Regions from separate parts of the Homo sapiens genome. Here all the other regions are linked to region 1. Evidence: promoter capture Hi-C in 16 types of primary human blood cells and fetal thymus (Javierre and others, 2016). All regions are on one chromosome and are shown on one strand. The core of a region is centred on a gene start or on the middle of the fragment in contact, and the rest is flanking DNA. Distances in the headings are between cores, read along the strand shown.

Region 1 (3,244 bases), core at 430-2,929:
ATTTTAATGCTTTCGAAGTAAATATATTGCTTTAGAAATGTGGTCACCAATTAAGAATCAATCTAGCTAGTTACAAAATGAAACTTTGGAGAATCTTTGAGTCTGGAATGGTCTGGGCACTCATACTGACTGCCTTGAGAAAAGAGACACTCAAGGTTTATCAAAGTTTTTGAAACTTTGATTTATGTTTTTGAATTGTAAATCCTCAGATCTCTTAGAATACTGATATTTTAGAAAGAATCCACATCATTTTATGCCTCCTCCAAACTGTCTACTTCATTCCACTGAAATGAAGTGAAATCCTAAGAGATAAAGTAATGCCAGAACTTTCTGGAAGTAACTATAAGAAGTTGAAGCTTATGTAACGTGTTTCCCAGTCATCAGGTCACTCTCTAGGCTGTTTACACTCTGGATCCCTTTCAGACCTCATGGAAGTTAATTTTAGTTTTATAGAAAGGACAGAGAAGCAGATTGCTGTCTTTGCAGAAACTGTCTCCGTTAAGCTTATGAGAGTCTTACCTTTCTGGTTTCCTGGGCATTACCAGAGAGAAGGAAGCACTGTTTGTCCTGAGAGAATCCTTTCTTGCATCTGCTTGCCTGGGTTTCAGTGGATGTGTGTGGGACAGCCCCAGGGGCAGCGGCTGTGAGCTTCCTCGACCCTCGGAGGGTCAGAGTCTGGTAGAAGAGACAGATTGCCACCACTAAGCCCACCAAGAAGGGTCGGGGGCAAAATCGCCGACGACAAGGGAACACTGGGCGACAGACCATGACCAGTTCAGCTTCACTTGGCCCCTGTCCACGTTGCGGGAAAAGTCATAGCAGCTATTTTTTGTCAGCATGAAAAATACTAATCTGTCTTCTTTTTCCCCAACTCCAATCAAGTTTGCTTCATCCCTGCTTAAGAATTTTCCAAAAGGTTGTGCCAAAGAATCATAGGTCCCGAAAGTCTGAGGCTTTTAATAAGAGCTCTTCCATGGATGACAGTCAAAAGTGGATGACCTGAGTTTAAAAAAAGACATCAAATAATAATAGTTGTAACGAATAACCTGAGTGTACCCCAGGCTGCCAAACTGTTGCTTCCAGCAATGCCTTATTCTCACATCTTTCAACTCACAGTAAAGGAGTCCGACTCTGCCTCAGCTTTGCAGGAAGAGAGAAAACAATACCAAAGTATATCTGGAGTCTGAAAACAGCATTGAAGAACGCAAAAGATTAAAACCCAAAGTGCCTGTTGCACAGCTGAACTCAGGCCAGGTTGCCTTAGCAGTTCCTCAATTTTCCTCCGGTTTTAAAGCAGTCTTGCTTTCAGCCTTTTGTATGCTTCCCTTCATTTAGTTTTAAATTCCCACTGTCCTGTAAGTATTCACGGCTTTTAACATAAAAAGGGCATACGCAATTTGAATGGACATGGTTACTGTCAGGGTTTTTGCTTGAATTTGTTTCATTCCGTCTCAAGTTCAAAGTTCTATGTACTTACTCAGTTTTCATCCTTTTAGCCAGGAAAAAAAAAGTTTCCATGATTTCCTAATGGATTGCTGATGAAAACCACTCGGAAGGAAACACCCAGTCGTATGACTCCAATTCATCTCACACACACACAGAGAGAGACACACACACACACGCACACAGACACATAAACACACGCGCGCGCGCCCGCTGCACGCCCGGCGGGAGCAGAGGACCTCGGCATCGCAGCCACCCGGGGCCGGGCAGAGCGGGGCGGAGCTAAGGCCGGGTTCCTCTGGCCCTGGGGGCTGCTGGAGCAGCGCTGTCAGCCCTGTGTCCGAAACCGTGGGCTTCCCCACTTTGGAAACAGCAGCTAGCATTTCCCCAAATGAGGCTGCCCACCCAGAGCTGCAGAATTTAGAAACGTATCTGATGTCTGATCCTCTGTGCAACTTCTTTTTCCTAATACAGAATTGGAAAAACAAATAGCCTTAGCCAATTGGTGACAAAGGTCGAGAATGAGACTAAAGTGAACTCCATGAGTGAATTGGGATATTCTTCACTCCAGGGAATTGTGGTTACTCTTCTGAGGATAAGAGGGTCACAAGTACTGTCTGGACCTCAGACAGCAAGCACCAGAATAACTCAGTCGTCTCTCTGTGTCTTAGTATGGAACTCAGATCACAGATGTTCTTATTACTCCTTTCCTGGACTAATTAATTGGGTCTTTCAATGATCTGATGCTTCATGGCCTGACATTTTGCTCCTAAAATGAGTCGATTATAGCAGGTGTTGGGGGTAACTTTTGCCCAGTAGATAAAGGTACACAGTGGGCTTTGTCCAGAATCAGCTCAGTCTAATTCTGTGCAGACCTTCGGGTGGACGCTGCTAATAGTGCAATTCTGCAAACCCCCTTCCACTTTTGCTGAGGCTGTCAAGGCGAAAGGAAATCAGTCCTTGCTTTGTGAACTCTGGATACCCAGGGCTGTCTTAGCGCATAGCAGGCATTATTTAAAGGCTCTGGACCTGAAGAGGTTTTCAAACTTGTTTCTAAGCCAAACTCTTGTGGGTTGAGGTTCTCCGTGAGGCCACACCCCTAGAGTGAGCCTCACCCAGAGGCACGCTGCTGTCAGCCCCTTGTATTTTGAGAGACGGAGCGCCCCCTAGGGGTGCCCAGCTAGCACAGATTCAGAGAAATGGGCATCTAGAGTTCCTTGCTTGTGAGAAAGAAACCCTTTTAACATCCTATAGAACAAATTAATTAACACATTACAGAAGAAATATTCACACGGAAGCTGGATTTATCCCAAGCCCTTGCATGTATCGCCTCCAGTGGCTTTAATATTATTTTATGTATAGGTTCAGAGTCCTTAATCTTATGACAAATGGGATAGAGAAAAATAAAGTGATGCTTCACTTTTAGAAGCCAAAAGAGTTTTAAGAGAAAATGGCTGAACAGTGGTGTTGTAGGACATATCGTTTTGGTGGATGCAATGTGATTTGAGAGATAATAAGAATTGTGAGATTTCTAAATTGGAATCCAGGGTGTGACAATGCTGTTACTGAGTGATAAGGAATAGGCAGACAGTTCTATTAAGTTCTGTTAAGGCAAGAAGTCTGAAAAACAGAGTTTGGGGAATCTAAAGAGTCATTCTTATGCTTTATTAAATTGTTGAGAACAAGGTACAGAAGAAAGTAAATCAGATGCTAAAATAAAATTGCCATTCGGTTGGGAGAAATGAAAGACAACAGTATTGAAAATTTTAAGATAATATAGCTAGACTTCAAATAATGGGAA
Region 2 (3,244 bases), core at 334-2,833, 460 kb before region 1:
GAAGAGACTTACCCAGATTTGAGGGTGGAAGAATTGGCCTGGTGAAGGTATTATTACTAAAATACACAATTTCACTCTATTCTTGAGCTATAATCTACAATATTTTGTGACCCTTCACTTCCTCATTTAAAATCTCAAAGGTTGTTTTCAGTTCTAAAATTTTAGTATTTGAACCCAAATTCTGGCTTCTGGGCAATCTTCCCATGGTCTTTCTATTTATATCACATCCTGTCCCCAAGCCATTGAATTTTTTTACTCTAACTGATTTGGAATTCTACATTACTTATTTCAGTCCCCACCCTAAACATATTTTTTCTTCCCAATTTATTCTTAAGGTTGAAATAAAGTTCGAATGAAACCTAGCAACACATAAACCTAGAGAAAAGAAGTAAATAATTTATTTTCTGGTATAGAGGAAACTATTTGTAGCTAGAAATAAACCAAATGTTCTCAAATCTGAGTGGAATTATATTAATTATATTTTTTTTCAAGAATATTCTGAAATGGGATTTTTCTGACCTAAATGAATCATCCAACTGTTATGATAATAGCCCTCCAAAGCTAAGGAAGCCCAGATTTTTGATACTATAATGTACTGCAGAGTCATCTATCATATAATTTGAACAACAATCTCTAATTGTGTTTTCCTTCATAACCAAAAAGAACATCTTAAAATTGGATGAGTTTGTGAAATGGTCAGGAATTCTTCATTTTTGTTCTTTGAGTATTAGAATCATCCAAGATTATACCCAAAGACACTTTAATTATAATGATAACATTCACTGAAAAAAAAAAGAGTGCTATGTAAGCAGGGCGTCCCATGTTTTTTTGCATTATGACACACATGAAAGCTGATTATATTTGCACAGCATGCTGGGATCAACTTAGAGTTGCCTCAGCGAGAAGCAACAAACCTAATGGTGGTAGGCGCCTGCTAGCTGTGAAACTAGTATTTCAGGATTCTGGTTACACATCCAAGGCATTAGAGAAGTTTAGGAGTAGAGCATAGACTTTCCTTAGAGAGTTGCCTGAAACTCCCTTTAATCTTCTTCTTAATCGGGACACCCATCTCTCTACTCCTACCTCACTCCCCGGCAAAACTGCATTTTTGCCCAAGGTGGGCTAAGCATACATAATTTTATTTTTACATTGGTTTAGTACATTTTAAAAATCAAAAGAAAATAACACATGAAAATAGAATGTGGGTATTTTGCATTAGAGTAAGTTGGTTGCATTATACATATGATTTTAGAGATAGAGCTGCTATGAGGAATTGGCAATAAAATTGTTGACCTTCACAGTCTATGTTTAGTGATCACATCAACCATAAGTTCTCAATGTGTTATCATCCATGTGACTTGAGTTGCATATCTAATCAAAAGCCCACTGAGACATTATGAATTCAAGGAAAATGTCTATATTATTACCCAGGAGATTAATAAAATTTCCTAAATTCTCTGTTTATGGCCTCCTACTGACTTAGTTTTATGAAAGATGCTATAAAGATAATTAAATTAGATGCTAGCTAGTGACTGCTATTGTACAGGACTTTCATTTCCATTTTATAGAACGAAACAGTGTTGAAGAAAAGAGTTGTGATAAATGGTATATATTCTGCTTTGTTTTGCAGAAATTAATTTTGTAATATAAAAGAAAAATATAATTATTATGTTATCTTTAGAAAATAAGTAAAGGAAGGCCTATGGTAACTTCCTCAGATGACTTATTCAAAGATCTTTTTCTTTTTTTATTTGAGACGGAGTTTCGTTCTTGTTGCTTAGGCTGGAGTGCAATGGCGAGATCTCGGCTCACCACAACCTTCACCTCCCAGGTTCAAGTGACTCTCCTGCTTCAGCTTCCTGACTAGCTGGGATTACAGGCATGTGCCACCACGCCTGGCTAATTTTTTGTATTTTTAATAGAGACGGGTTTTCTCCATGTTGATCAGGCTGGTCTCGAACTCCCGACCTCAGGTGATCCACCCATCTCGGCCTCCCAAAGTGCTGGGATTACAGGCGTGAACCACTGTGCCCAGCGACTTTTGTCTTATAAAATAAAATATAGATTCAAAATCCTAACAACATATAATGATGGCTAGAATATATCAAGTTCTGGGTGCCAGATTTCATGCCAACAATTTTCCAAAACCTTCCAAACACATTTCATCTTCAGAACAATACTATGAGGTGGGCACATTTATCTCTATCATACAAATAAGAAAGCTGAAACTAAACAAAATTACCTGGCCAGTTTGTGGACATAGACAGAACCAGCAGAGGTTGAGCAAGATTAAGAAGCAGCTTGTCTGATCCAAGTGCCTGCAATCTTGATCACATTGCCTTAGGCCCAACCATTGCAAAAAATCAACCTAACAAACTAGCATATTTTACGATGATATTGACCAAATTTCAGGAGTTGCCAAACTTTGTTCCACATTAGAATCACTTGGGGAAATTGTATGATTCCTATTCTCATCCCCTACCAATTAAATCATCATGTCTGGTAGAGTTAGGGGCAACCAAATATCAGTATTATTACAGATTCCTAAGTGATTCCCTTTGCCCAAAATTTGGGGACCGCTGACCAATGCAGATTTTGGAGGTCTCAGCTTACAGCTGGTCCTACAGTCCTAAATTTCACTTAGGAGAAACCATTGTGCTTCAGGTTCTGGAGCTAGACACTTAACTATAGGCTATGACTAGTCCCTATATGTGTAAATCTTCTTGTCTCCCACCTCCCCCCAACCAAAAAAAATTTCTACAAGTGCACTATTTAATTATTAGGAGATGCACAGGTGGACTGAGCAATGGTAGCATTTTTTTTTTTTTTTTTGATGCACTACAGCAATATTGGCTAAGCATACAGAGAAGGGAGAGAGAGATTTGGCAATTAGCAGTTATTTTGATACTGTTAGGCAGCCAAATAGGAAAATTAGGTCCCCCCAAAATCCACTTTGGAATCTAATTATCCAATTTGACTCTTTACCGTGATCAAGTTAGTCAACAAATTGCCTTTTCACTTGTCCTGTGTTTTCCAGGATATTATAAATGAAAATTTGAAAACTTCCTTTTGCTATTTTTGCAGAAGGTAGAAATTGAAAAGAAACTTACAAGTCATTTGGGCCAAGCCGTCATTTTAGGCTGAGGAAGTGAGGCTACAGATTACTGCCTTATTCTCCCAACAAAGCAACCGCAGCTCTCAGGGTCTCCTGCTACAGCTTACTATCTCAGGAAAAAACCCAGGG
Region 3 (3,244 bases), core at 485-2,984, 410 kb before region 1:
ACATCTTGATTTCAGACTTCTCTTCTCCAGGATAGTGAAAGAGTAAATTTCTGCTGTATAAACCATCTAGTTTGTGGTAATTTGTTACGGCAGTTCTAGGAAACTAATACATATTCTATTCCCTTGGGCTGTTTGTAGAAATTAGTCTCCATGGATAATGGTAGAACCATTTTTATGTTACAGGCTGAAGGGGCAATTGACCCAGGCACTTTGCATAATATGTACTATCTGAAATCTTTAAAATGGCAGGTGCAAAATCCCTTAAGCTCTGTCAAAATCTGACATTCAAATTACACGATTCTTCAAGTATGCTGTCTTACTCTGCTAGTCATAAGTCCCTCTGGTGTGTTCTTAATTAAGCTTTTTATTTTTAGATCATTATAGATTCACATGTAATTCTAAGCAGTAATGGATCTATGTACCCTTTATCCAGTTTCTTCAAATGGTAACATCTTATAAAATTATTGTGCAATGTAACAACCAGGATACCCACAGAGATAAAATCCACTTATCTTATTCAGATGTCCCCAGTTTTAATAGCACTGATTTGTGTGTATGATTTTGGTCTATGTAATTTGATCCCCTGTGTTGGTTGTGTATCCACCACCACAGCTGAGACACAGAGCTATTCTATTGCCGCCAGGATCCCTCATGATGCCCTTTTGAAAACACACCCACTTTCTTCTCTCTTCTCTCCTAGCCTTGAGGATAACAAATGGGTGAATCTTAAGAGAATTATGCTGAATGAAAAAAGCCAATCCCAAAAGACTACATACTGCGTGATAACATTTCTATAACATTCTTAAAATGACAAAACGATAGTGATGGATAACAGGTTAGTGGTTGCCAGGAGGTGTGTATTCTCTTGAAAGTGAGATGTATTTCAAATTTTCAGGGGTCATGTATGATTCCAAATTGTCCTGTATAGCAAATTAATTTATTAATTTAATAGACTTGTGGAGAAATCATCTGTGTACCTGCTTCTATTCAGATGCTGGAAATATTCCATCACTATTTCAGGAAATGCTCAAAGATAACAAGTGAGAAGCATGAAAATGGAATCATATGTTAAGCCCTTGGTGAGATCTACCATGAATGAGAAGCTCCAATTAAAAGTTCTGTCTCCCTCAAGGAACTGTGAAAAACTATGAGAGGATTTGTCATCTGAGTTGAGGATTTGGGAGAGTAAGCAGCTTAGGTTGTTCAGATACAGGTGCAAAGAGTGAAGCATGTGGCCTCTGGAGTCCTGGAAGAAGGCAAATGGACCAGTAATGAGTATGAGCACTCAGTAGGTGTACCACTGGTGATGGAGAGATGACAGTTCTGCTGGGCTGGATGGAAGCAATGGAAATGAGGAGGTGGAAAATGTCAGCTCCTATGAATCAGTGAAGGCTGTGTGTGAAGGGTAGTAGTGTAGAAAAGAACAACAACAACAACAAAAGTAAAAATAAAATAAAATAAAATAAAAAATTCTGCAAAAGGAGTCCCATGTCTTAGTGCTGAAGTAAGACCGTGCAAATGAGTTCTAGGACAACTGGCGGCTTGAGCTGATAAGCAGATACTTCACCAAAGTTTTGCATGCAAATCAGGGGAGGGTGGGTAATGGCATTTAAGAATTATTTGGGACCATAGATCTGATGTGGCAAATGAATTGCACCTCCAATACTAAAAACTATACTAAACATTCTCCAATACCAAAACAAAATGGAACAAACTAACTAAAAATCTGTGAGAGGATTGCTATTGTTCTCATTTACAGGGAAGAACTGGTTTAGACAGACTAAGCACCTGGGCTGAGGTCACTTAGAATCAATTAATAGATGTAACCAAGATCCAAATTATCTGTCTGACTTCAAGTCCAACCCTCTCACTTCAGTCCTTTCAATGAGTTCAACAATGATCGGGGGCAGGGTGGCCTGGAGGTGTAGAAAAGATGAAGAGATGGGGAATTTCAGAAGGTGAGATTATCCTGGAATCTATAGAATCTGAAAGTTAGTTAATTCCCCATGCTTGATTTTTCAAAGTAAAGTGAGCAGTTTTCTTGGTTTTGGCTTCATGAATAGAGATGGAAAATTTGACTATTGGATAAAACGCTATGAAATACCAGATGCTATATTTGAGCAGAGCTTCTCTGAGTAAATAAATTACACTTAAAAATATGTCCAAGCCTCAGCAAGGCCACAACAGTTCTACAGAAAATATTTCAAAATAAAAGTGCAAAAAATGAGCAGCTTAGGGATTCATAAGTAACCTTTCCTATTTAATCAGGAAACAAGTTCAAAATAGTACAGATGTGGTACCTTTTGTGTGGTGGTGAGGGGTGGGAGAGTGACCTAGAATTGGAAATGCAGTTAGTGAAACATATTTGGAAGGTTAGGCTGATTCCAGCTTCCTATCTAGGTCACAGGTACATCAGGGAAAAGCATTGTTGCACATAAAATACTGCCAGCCTGTAAGTTTTGAAGGTCAATGTCATTGTCTAGAATTCCAATGTTTCCATCTAATTCCTTGGAACAAGTATTATTGAAATAAGTCATATTAGGAAAAATAGCCAACAAATTTATGAGACTATATAATACCTGAAAAAGCACACAAAGATTGCAATAACAATATGCAGTGTATATATACATATACATATATATTTATTTTGTGTTTGTTTTTCTATTGTATATTTCTTAGACTTGTTATGACCACATGGGATTTTGGCCTGCTGGAGTGTGTTGCTGAACTATCTGTAGTGACCATGAAATTCACCAGAGAACGGGTCTTTATGCAATACTAACAATTGAATGATGTTTTGCTACTCATATTTCTACTGTTTTGCCTTTCAAAGCAAACAATGCATTCCAATTTAATGTAACTAGAGATCTTAATGTTTAATAAAAATGCCGTCGTCACAGTGAGTCCTTTTGTGCTTAGACTAAAGGGTTCCCATAGTCAGTTCTTAATAAAGAACTGAAGTTACAGACTTAAGCAATTATGTTGTAGGAAAACAGACACTTTTTTCAGTATTTGTTCAGTTGCTTCTTCTCTGAGAGTTTTTTGGTAGACTTTTTAAAAAATGGAATGTGGATAGAAGTGTTTTCAGATGACTTAATATGAAGCTTACTCATTGTACTTACTTAGATTTATATGAACGTTAGGGGTGTAGTCACATTTTCCCATTTATTCTGTGGCAGTGAAAAACATAAAGCATTTTTCTCCAGAAGTCTGATAAATATAAATTTCTAAACACCTTATACAC
Region 4 (3,244 bases), core at 469-2,968, 400 kb before region 1:
AAGAAGGCGAATTCTCCCTTACTTATTAGAATCCCTTATTATTAGAATCATGGGAACTTTCTAAGTTGGTTGGGTTAAAATTGTCATTTGTCCAGCACTGAGTTGAAGTAGGATTGAATTGAATGATAGTTTCTCTATTTGTAGAGGATAACTTGTGGTATTTTCCTGTGGTTTAATTAAGTGCTGTTTGTTAATATTAAGTAGGTACATCAAAGGGTGTATTTGTACGTTTAATTTTCTTGTATCATTTCCATTTCAAGGAGGGGTTCCAATACCCAAGCTTAGTCATTTTGCCATACTGTTGAATTGCTGGAGTGGGTAGTTTGTAGCAATTCCCAAAGCAGTTTGCAAAAGCCAAGTTGATTGGCATGACATTTTGTCAACAAGCCTCTTATATTAGAGTGTGTCAGTGAACAGCTGGAGTGAAAAGGAAGTGGATTTGTTTGTAGCGTGAGCTTCTTACTTACCCTTCATGTGACCCTAGAGAAATCCCCTGATCTCATATATGCTGCTGTTTTAATGCCCCCAGCAACTAGAGGCTGGTGGGAAGATTACATAAAATAAGGGTGTGTGTGAATTGCACTGACATAAGTATGTATTCATACTTGGTTTATGTTAACTGGCAAGAAATCCCCCTCCTGGTAAATAATTTTTTATGACAATTTTGTCAATATAGAGTGATGTTTCTGTGGTTTATGTGATTTAGTCCACTTCCCAAGGAAATAATGGAAGTATCACTTGACCTTTGATTTTACTCTGTTGTTCCTGAAGTTAATTTATTCTAGAACAATGACTCCTTATTCACATAGTAGCTTGATTTCTACCTGAGTAATAAAACTTCACTAAATTAGATCAGAGTAGATAGTGGGGCCAAAGGAATGTTTAAATTGTCAACCATGTAAAGAAGTTTAGTACGTCCATCTGAGGCCCTAGTTCAGGCGCTCTTTCCAGCTGCAGTGTTTCATTGTCCAGCGACATTGTGGTGGCTGTCCTTGCTGTTGAATCTCAGGTGATTATGAACCTTACATATTAGCAACTGGATTTGGTTCAGTGACATATATTTATCAAAAACACTAAAACAAATTTTGGCCTATGTAACACTTTTTGGAGCAAATGTATAAATGTACTAAGTTGAGTTTTGGGGTTTTTTTTCCATCCTAAAAATATCCTTCTGTGACTCATTTTCTGGTTTTGGTAAGTGGCTCTAATATCTATATTTCTACCTTTTAATGAACATACTTATATATAAGCCCTTTCGCCTGTTGCCTCTAGATTTAGAGTTCTGAATTTCTAGCAAAGGCCTTTTTCTCCCTTTACTATTGTGCTCCTTTTCTCTGGACCTGTTCAATCCTTGTTTAATTATTGATGGTTTTCAGCCTGAAGTTTCCATTAAGTTTTTGCTTCCCTCACCCATACAAGATAATTGTATGTAAATATTTTCTTTGCTTTTACATGCCCCCTCTAAGAAGACAAATAGGAATGATTTAGAATTAGCACATTATCATCATACATAGATGCTCCTTGATTTGCTCTCAAATATATTCAATACTCCTATCCTGATGTAGATTCTTGAATCATTAATTTGCTTCTTAAGGAAATTAATTGAGGCATGTTATGGCTGAGATTTAATTTGATGAGATTTTAATTTAGAAATTTTACTAAATGTGAATTCTCTGAGACATTTTAATGGAAAACAGTTGTATTCAGCTAGACAATCATCATTGCTTATATTGTGGTCTTAGGGATGAGTTTAGAAACAGGTTTGTTGGGAGATACAAATGGGTGGCAGGTACATGCAGCATCCACTGCAAGGTGTGGCCTGAGCAGGCCATGGAAACAGTGAAATAGAACATCAAGTACCTGGTGCGTAACTGCTTATCACACTTTCAAAGAAATTTTCCTAGGTCACACTCAGATAAGAGTGAAGTTATTTTGGAAAATTAGCTGGCAGGAAAAGCATGTATATGTTATGAAAGCTGAGTTCAGTTTTGCCAGAAGCCAACAGAGGATTTATAACCAGTTGGGGTTTTCATTTAAAAAGCGGAGGTTTTTTTCTGCTTTTATGTGATGGTTTGTGGATACTTCAGTATCTTGTTTCCTTTTAGTATTTTCCTAGCCTGTGGCTAGGTAGTTGAAATAGATATATAACATTGACTTTTTCTATTACGTGGAAGCTGTTCAGATAATTAACAAAGGAAATCAATGACACACAACTCAGTTTAAGTGTTGTTTTTTCTTTAGGGTATGTTGTGCAGAAGAAAGAGAGCTAGCCTAAGAGCATTGGACTTTTGGGAGCTGTCCAGACTCCCCCGCCCCCCAGAACCCTGCTGAAGCCCACCTGCCTAGTCCAGTGAATAAAAAAAGTGCATGTCTCACTTCTTTTCAGTGTCCTTCAGAGATGTGCCATTATTACTATTTTCTTGACACATTCTGTGAATTACTAGATCAGGCAACAATATTGAAACATAAATATCAAAATACAATCTAAAATAGATATGTACTGCTGGCAAATGGGATTCATCCATCAAAATTTCCTTTTGAATTCCATTCCTTTACAATAGGTTGAGTTGACTGTGGAAGCTCTCCAGCTAAACTTGAATGTGGCTTTCTTATTAAACTTACTTATTTTTTCATTTTCTTTTCAAAATGTCACCTATTTTGAGTTATTTCTTAGGAGGAAAACACCCATGCACATACAGATTTTTTTCCAGCATCTGTTTCCTGTTGATCTTACAGTAATATCAAAGAACAGTTGATCCATTTGATGTATTAACATTACTCTGTCAATCATGATAATTGCTGGGATATTTAAAATTGCAGTTCTGTACTTCTTAACATATTATTTTACAAACTTAAATCGAAAAACATGAAGAGGTCCCTGGTATTGAAATCGGAAGCCCTTGCTGTAAATGCTTATGGTAGTGGCACTTGAATTATGTCATATCAAAAATGAAGTGGCATCATGTACTGGAGTGAGCCAGCTGACCTCAATTCCAGCCCCATGTCTACAAATAATTTGTTCCACAACTAGATAAGCAGCTTAACCTCTTTGGACATCATCTGCAAACTGAAGGTTTGGAGCTAAATATCAAAAGTTTCTTATAGATGCATAATCCATGAGAATAAGAAGGCATTCTCTTCTATTCACAAGCTTGATAACACACTTTTACTCTTTGGTCATTCAGTTAGCTGAAGACACAGCAGGGTAAGACAGACCCTCCTTGAGGTCTTATGGTCCAGTGGA
Region 5 (3,244 bases), core at 375-2,874, 360 kb before region 1:
TTGTTCTTCCCTATTAATCAGAATTGAGCCATTAATATTGTCCGTCTTGCTTTCTGTGCTTCCAGAAAGGCAGCATTGGCTTGGTTTGATGGTGCAACTGTAGGACTATCCGATGTGCCTCCTTTCCCAGCAAGGATTGAGGCAGAACCCACAGATTCCTGTGTCCAGTTCCCACTTCCTCCCTTTCTAGTTTAGATTGCCTCTGGGCAGCATTAGATTGTCTTCTAGCAAAACCTGATACCGTTCTCTGTCTATCCTGGTTTATCACAGGATAATTTTCTGTTCATTTTGAAGAAAATTATTCACTAAAATAATATATTTGACATAAATTTTTAACTCAGCTAGTTAAGACCATTAGTAAGGATTAAAATATATGTAACAAACTCAGAGTGCCCTATGTGGAATAAAAAGCTTGTATCTCCAACCTTTATGCTATATAAAAATATATTTGCTGCCCTGGCTTTTTTAAAAAAGGGGCATTTTGACATTTCCTGTATATTCAATTAAATACTGGCTATGTTACATGATTTTAAACTTTTGAAATATAAAGATTTTTTTTACTTAGTTACACAGAAGATATCTAAAAATAATAATAAAATAATCAACCAAATTCTACATAGGCAGATCAGAAAGTGTTAGAAGTCATTGACAAAGTCATCTTGTTATAAAACTGTAGTTAGATATACACAGGGCTATGTGTTAGACGTCCCCCAAACCACTCCCAGTTTTGACAGTTCTCCAGTAGGTCTCATGGTTGTGATTTGTTAAAGCAAAAATACACAAAGCAAAATGAGCAAAGGGAAAAGGTTCATGGGACAAAGTCTGGAGGGACAAAGGAGTCTTCTCCCAAGTGGAGTCAAACAGGACATGCTTAATTCTTCCAGCAACCAGTTAGGACAACACATGGGAAATGTTGTCTGCAAGGAAGCTTATTAGGGACTCAATGCCCAGAGATTTTATTAGGGGCTGGTCATGTAGGCACCCTCTGCCTAACCTGTTGCAAAATACCAGACTCCCAGAGAGAAAACAAGTGTTCAGCATAAATTGCATTGTTTTTGCCCACAGTTTAGACACAATGAACCATTCTTATCAGTTTTGAAAATGATAGGAGCCCTCCGCAAATCCAAGTGGCCAGATAGCCAAGGGTCAGTCTTGCTAGTAGGCCTTTCTAAGCTCAGGCCTGCTATGTTAATGCATATCTGCACAGGATCTCAGTATCTTCTAATGGAAAAGCAAGGAATAAGATTAATGGAGTTAAAACATAAAGCTCAATCTTTAAGTTTCTCCTTGATCTCTGGCTTGATTGTAAATCAGCTTGGTTTATTCATACAGATCATAATGGTCACTTCTGAAATTCAGGAGTACAAAAATAAGAATGCCTGACTGCCCTTCAACATATTTCTTAGTTGGTGCAAAATTCTTGGATAAGATTTTACTTTTGGCAGGGAGCTGGACCTGCGTTTGGATAACCTTCTATTTTGCAGGGAATTTTTCCTGTGTAAAGCAATCTCTTAACATTTGTGAACTTCACATTCATCATTTCAGCTGTTTATGAGCCACCCTAAAGGCCTGTGAGGTATCAATTCATAATTTTTTTGAGATGTAAATGTGAATGGAACCCCAAAGCCTCTCTGCAGGAGGCAGTCCATTTAGCTGACCACTGAGCCTACTGCCTGTGCTCTAGACATTTCAATACTATTTATTCTTGTTACAGCAGCAAAACTCATCGCTAGTGCTGATGATGCAAGTGTAGACTTCCATAAGGTAGTTAGAAAATAGAACATTTGGATAAACTACGCAAGTGGAATTTGACAGCCTTTTAGATCCATGGCATCCCAATAACATTTGGAAACAAGAAAACAAGGTTCAGGTGATAATTTTGGGGCATTTCCCTCTAGCACCAAAGTTGGTTATCAAGTGAGCAAACAAGTGGAAAGTGATGGATAATTCATGTAAGGATGGGCACAGGAAACGAAGCTGCAGAGGAACTGTGGAGGGAAAGCCAGTGCATATGCACAGATTTCATGTGAAGGCCTCACAATCTTCACAGAGGCTGAGATTGGTTCTTCTGCACAGTCATTTCACTTCTTTTTAGTTCACTTGGCTATAAATGTACCACTTAATATAGGAGGCGAATCTGAAAGGCTAAATGCTCCACAGGCTATGGCTTATTTTCTTGCTGATTCTAGTGAACTTCCTCCAGGTGGACAGCAGTGCCCAGGCTGTGGCCAAAACAGCTCCACAGCCCCCACGGATGTGGTGGGCATCAATCATGAAAGTTTAATGATATATGTAGTTCTTTCCTGTTTTATGAAGCTTTTTTAAAAAAACCATAAGAGTATCCCTTTTTCTTTAGTTAAATGAGAACTGTTCTATGTAGTGTTTCTTTCACTAAGATATTAAAGGAGCTACTTGATACTAGCATGAGAGGTTTGAAAGAACACTGTAGAATGAATAAGTACCTTCCTCACTGACTTTCCTGCTGTTTGGAAATATAAACTTGCCTTGCCTCAGGTTTTAGCAGAACAAACCTCTCTAAGTGACCTGTTAGAGCTGTCTTTTGCGCAGTATATAGGACTCAATGCCAAATATGTGTACAAGTAGCCCTTAATTTTTTCTTCTTCTTCTTTTTTTAAGCTCTATAGCTACCATTTATGTTCTGAGTTTCTTTTCTCCTTAGAGATAAAGGAGAGAAAATCATTGACCATTAGGATGATCACTTACACAAAATTTTTTAGGGACATCTTTCAATTAGTAGTTTCCCTGGTGGTTGACTTCTGTCACTGCTCCACCTCCTGCTAGTAGGCATTTAGCTGCTGTGTGGTTAATATTTTCATTTTTATTAAGTAACCACTTGGCAGTTATCACTGAAGTACAATTTATATATCTGTTCTCAAAATTCATTTTCTTTTAAATAAAACATAGTGTTAGAAACATACAGATTTTTGTCAGCATTTACCTTTATTCTGGTCAAATGTAATTTACAGAGGGTTTAGTGGAGATTCAAAAAGATTAATTTTATAAAAATATTGATTGCTTAAGACCTTGGATAGCCTGGATAGGCATCTACTAACTGTGGTATCCCTTATTTATTTGATGAGTGTAATTTAAAAAGTTAAATGAAGGTGAATTGTTGTGAAATAAAAACCTAACAGGTCCTTTTAATAGAATAAACTTAAAATTAATTGTTGGAGTTCATGTCTTTTGTCACTAAAGAATTCAACCAGTAGAAATGTAACTCTGA
Region 6 (3,244 bases), core at 272-2,771, 310 kb before region 1:
TATTTAAACATGATTTGCATCTGTAAGCGCTTATCATATACAAAATTAAGGGAAGATTTATAATGTAAAAATGAATTTTGATGTTGCATTAATATTGCATTTGGTGATAGTATGGTAGAAAAAGAAAGCAAGTAGAAATATTTGTATGGATCAGAAGCCATGCCCATTGGTCTATATGCTGGAAGGGCAGGGCCTGCATGAATATCTTCCCATATACTTTAGGCTCCAATAACTCACATCTCTAAATGGGGCAATCAGTATAGCTTTTTTCCTGGCTCCTCAATTTTTGGTGTCAAAATAGCAGACTCTTCCAGATAAGTTATGTGATACTCCCTGCTTCTTTTAATAGTCTCATTTCTGGCTAGCCGATACCTGAAATTCCACAACTAGAAATGTCTTACTTTGTCCTCTCTTAAAACTTCAGTTATGAGGGCTTGAGATATGGTTCATTTAGACATGGGCATAACTTCATCAAATCCTTTCCAGTTTTGCTAGGGGCAGGGTGGAAAGAACATCTGCTTCTTCTGAGATGAGCGAGGTATAGGGGTACAGCAAAGAGCAGGCCTGAAGCACCATAGCCCTGTGCAAACTGCAAGCCTCAGGGCCCAGCACCGGGTGTCAGCAGCTCCCTGAACTTCTAGCAGCCTCCCCATTGAGTCCAGGAGGACAACTTCCACATGTACCTGACATCTTCCCCAACTACTTCTTTCGTACTCTACCTCAATCCCAACTGTAAATATACTAAAAACCACTGAATTTTATGCTTTAAATGAGTAAACTTCATGGTAGGTAAATTGTATCTCAATAAAACAGTTACAAATAATACATATAAACAATGGGAACAAACATTTGGTACTTGCTAAACAGGGTATCAGGAAATGATGATATTAATACTATTTCTAACATAGTGCGTTGTCAAAGCCTTTTAGATAACTTCTATTTCGAGCACAATTTTTAACTCCAGAAAATGCTAGAGTTTGTTAGTGCATTTGTTTGTGTGTTTTTTTTTTTTTTATAAAAATTCATGAGTGTCTTTCCTGTGCCAGGTAATTTGTTTCTAAACTGAGAGTGCAAAGATTAAAACATAATAATGCTAAGTGAAGGAAAGCAGCCAAAAAGACCACATATTGTGTGATCTTATTTATATGAAACATCCAAGGTAGGCAAATCCATAGAAACAAAAAGCAGATTGGTGGTCACTGAAGTCTGAGGAGTGGAGGTGGGGAAAGTTGAAGAGTGACTGCTATGTTTCTTTTTGGGATGATAAAAAAGTTCTAAAGTTAGATTATCTTGATGACTGCAGAACTGTAAATATACCAAAAACTACTTAATTTTACACTTTAAATGAGTGAACTTCATGTAGGTAAATTTTATCTCAATAAAACAGTTAAAAATTTTGCATATCCACAATCAAACAAACAACTCAGTCCCTTCCGCATGGAGTTTACATTCTAGGGAGGACAAACTTAAACAGACAAAGAGAAAATGGCTGGGTTGGGGTAAACAGGGAACGCTAAAGGAATGCAAAGAAAGAATACTTTGATCAGTGTATGAGGAATCAGAGAAAGATTCCTAGAGGAGATGGCATCTGAGCTAAGAAGTAGTGAACAGAGAAAAGAATGAGAGAGAGCAATGTTTGCTGAGCCCCTACTCTACATTAGAGATTGGATAGTAGAAAGATGAATGGCTCAAGGTAATCAAATAGATGATTGTAGGTAATTATACCGTGAAAATGCAATAATGGAGGTGGACACAGAAACCATCTAAGTCAAAAAGGGGAAACGAAAATGGGTGGAGGCCAACTAGAAATTCGATTTGGAGGAAGAAAGTTATGAGCTGTAGAACTGTGATCGTGCTGGGTGTCCTCCACCCAGCGGAACCTCTGCCACAGTTTACAGGACTTAGTTATGCTGCCGCATAACTAAGGGTTATGACTTACCCCTCAGCCATACTGAGGGTCATACTGAGTCATACTGAGGGATATGACTTACCTCTCAGCCACCCATCTCAGCATTTGCCAGTGAGAAGGCCCTGTGAGATCTGAGGGCAGAGGCACGGCATGTGGCCAGAGTCCCTACTGAGAGTGATTCCCATAAGTGAACTTTACTGATCCATTTACTTTCATCAGGGTACAATGTTGCCCTGCTCTCTTTCTTTCCCCGAGTTCTCTGTAGTTTTAAAGTTTAAACTATAGTTTATCGTTCTCTCTAGTTTTGGAGCCCTCGTGACTCCACAGTCCAACATTTCCTAGTATCTTCTTATTTTGGTGATTTCTGGCAGTTGGGTTACTTGTCACCTCTTAAGAAAAGCATCTAGCAAACATCTCCCCTAACACGTCCCTCCCTGCTCTGTCACTGCCTGGCGGAGGCCTCGAAGTGCATTCCCCACATGTTCAGACGAGCACTTGGTAAAGGCATCCAGAGATATAGAACCTGTTATACTAAAGGTTTTACATACTGCTATAAATAAAAAATAAAAGGAATGTTTTAAAGGAACTAATTCGATGGATATAAGATTATTTGATACTGCTCCATTATCTATTTCATTGTGTGTGTATGTGTGTGTGCATACATTTTATCTATACATACACACACACACACACACACGTATTTATACAGTATGGATGAGTTTTTATTTGAAAATAATCCAGAATTCCTGTTTTCAAGTCTTTTATTTGACACACACTCTGCCCAGACACAAACCAGGGAAGGTTTGGCTTTGACCCAACAGTTTTGACTTTCTTGTCTGCAGAGGCAGCATAACAAGTCCATGATCAGTGGTGAAGGGAAGGCATTTATTTTCACTGTATTTGACAAGCATCCCTCCCAGGGATGCTTCCATTGGAAGAGAAATCGACTTCAAGAAGCTCAGTACTTCAAAGACTTATGATGACCCCAGGAAAGAGAAAAACACCATGTAAGCCAATCACCCACTTTGTGATTGTCCATTCTTCTGGGAAATAAGAATCTGAGATGCAATGTCTGTATCAGCCTCATCTCAGAATCCATAAATAATTCACAGAAGGTATCAATTTATTTATAGGATAGGTGGCCAAGAGAGACTTCCGGCTGTTTACCAATAGCATGGCTCTGGAAACTCCATCCTATTGAAATAATTCCTGTTCTTGGCAGGAGTAACTTGAGCTAAGGGTGTATCCACACCCTTTTAAAAACATGCCAGTGATTTTGCATAACTAATATGAACATTGAAATGGGTATTCTATAGAGGCAAGTGTGAACAGAGA

Evidence for each region. The method cuts DNA at HindIII sites, captures the fragments that hold promoters and counts their contacts. A CHiCAGO score of 5 or more calls a contact.
Region 2: a contact is called between a fragment that was not itself captured here and the fragment with the promoter of CPED1 in region 1, in 1 of 17 cell types (total CD4 T cells). The highest score is 5.0, in total CD4 T cells.
Region 3: a contact is called between a fragment that was not itself captured here and the fragment with the promoter of CPED1 in region 1, in 5 of 17 cell types (monocytes, activated CD4 T cells, total CD4 T cells and 2 more). The highest score is 6.2, in monocytes.
Region 4: a fragment that was not itself captured here is called in contact with the fragment with the promoter of CPED1 in region 1 in 4 of 17 cell types (M0 macrophages, M1 macrophages, non-activated CD4 T cells and 1 more); the score reaches 13.5 in M0 macrophages.
Region 5: a contact is called between a fragment that was not itself captured here and the fragment with the promoter of CPED1 in region 1, in 7 of 17 cell types (total B cells, naive B cells, non-activated CD4 T cells and 4 more). The highest score is 13.2, in total B cells.
Region 6: a fragment that was not itself captured here is called in contact with the fragment with the promoter of CPED1 in region 1 in 1 of 17 cell types (erythroblasts); the score reaches 5.9 in erythroblasts.

The regions. Positions count from the first base shown.
Region 1 is chr7:120,987,146-120,990,389 of GRCh38, reverse strand. CPED1 (cadherin like and PC-esterase domain containing 1) reads right to left here and starts at 1,679. Exons shown (of 23, transcript NM_024913.5): 1 at 1,478-1,679; 2 at 520-999. The coding sequence starts at 768. RefSeq lists an enhancer at 2,424-2,503. The HindIII fragment of the contact is 5,089 bases long and covers 506-3,244 here.
Region 2 is chr7:121,444,388-121,447,631 of GRCh38, reverse strand. No RefSeq gene overlaps it. Among named protein-coding and RNA genes, the nearest start is that of FAM3C, 50 kb to the right of the region's middle. The HindIII fragment of the contact is 8,915 bases long and covers 1-3,244 here.
Region 3 is chr7:121,401,761-121,405,004 of GRCh38, reverse strand. No RefSeq gene overlaps it. Among named protein-coding and RNA genes, the nearest start is that of FAM3C, 7.1 kb to the right of the region's middle. The HindIII fragment of the contact is 2,744 bases long and covers 363-3,106 here.
Region 4 is chr7:121,383,168-121,386,411 of GRCh38, reverse strand. All of the region lies in intron 1 of FAM3C (FAM3 metabolism regulating signaling molecule C), which reads left to right. Among named protein-coding and RNA genes, the nearest start is that of FAM3C, 12 kb to the left of the region's middle. RefSeq lists a silencer at 915-1,112. The HindIII fragment of the contact is 2,871 bases long and covers 283-3,153 here.
Region 5 is chr7:121,351,406-121,354,649 of GRCh38, reverse strand. All of the region lies in intron 8 of FAM3C (FAM3 metabolism regulating signaling molecule C), which reads left to right. Among named protein-coding and RNA genes, the nearest start is that of WNT16, 24 kb to the right of the region's middle. The HindIII fragment of the contact is 1,388 bases long and covers 931-2,318 here.
Region 6 is chr7:121,301,143-121,304,386 of GRCh38, reverse strand. No RefSeq gene overlaps it. Among named protein-coding and RNA genes, the nearest start is that of WNT16, 26 kb to the left of the region's middle. RefSeq lists an enhancer at 1,985-2,054. The HindIII fragment of the contact is 4,009 bases long and covers 1-3,244 here.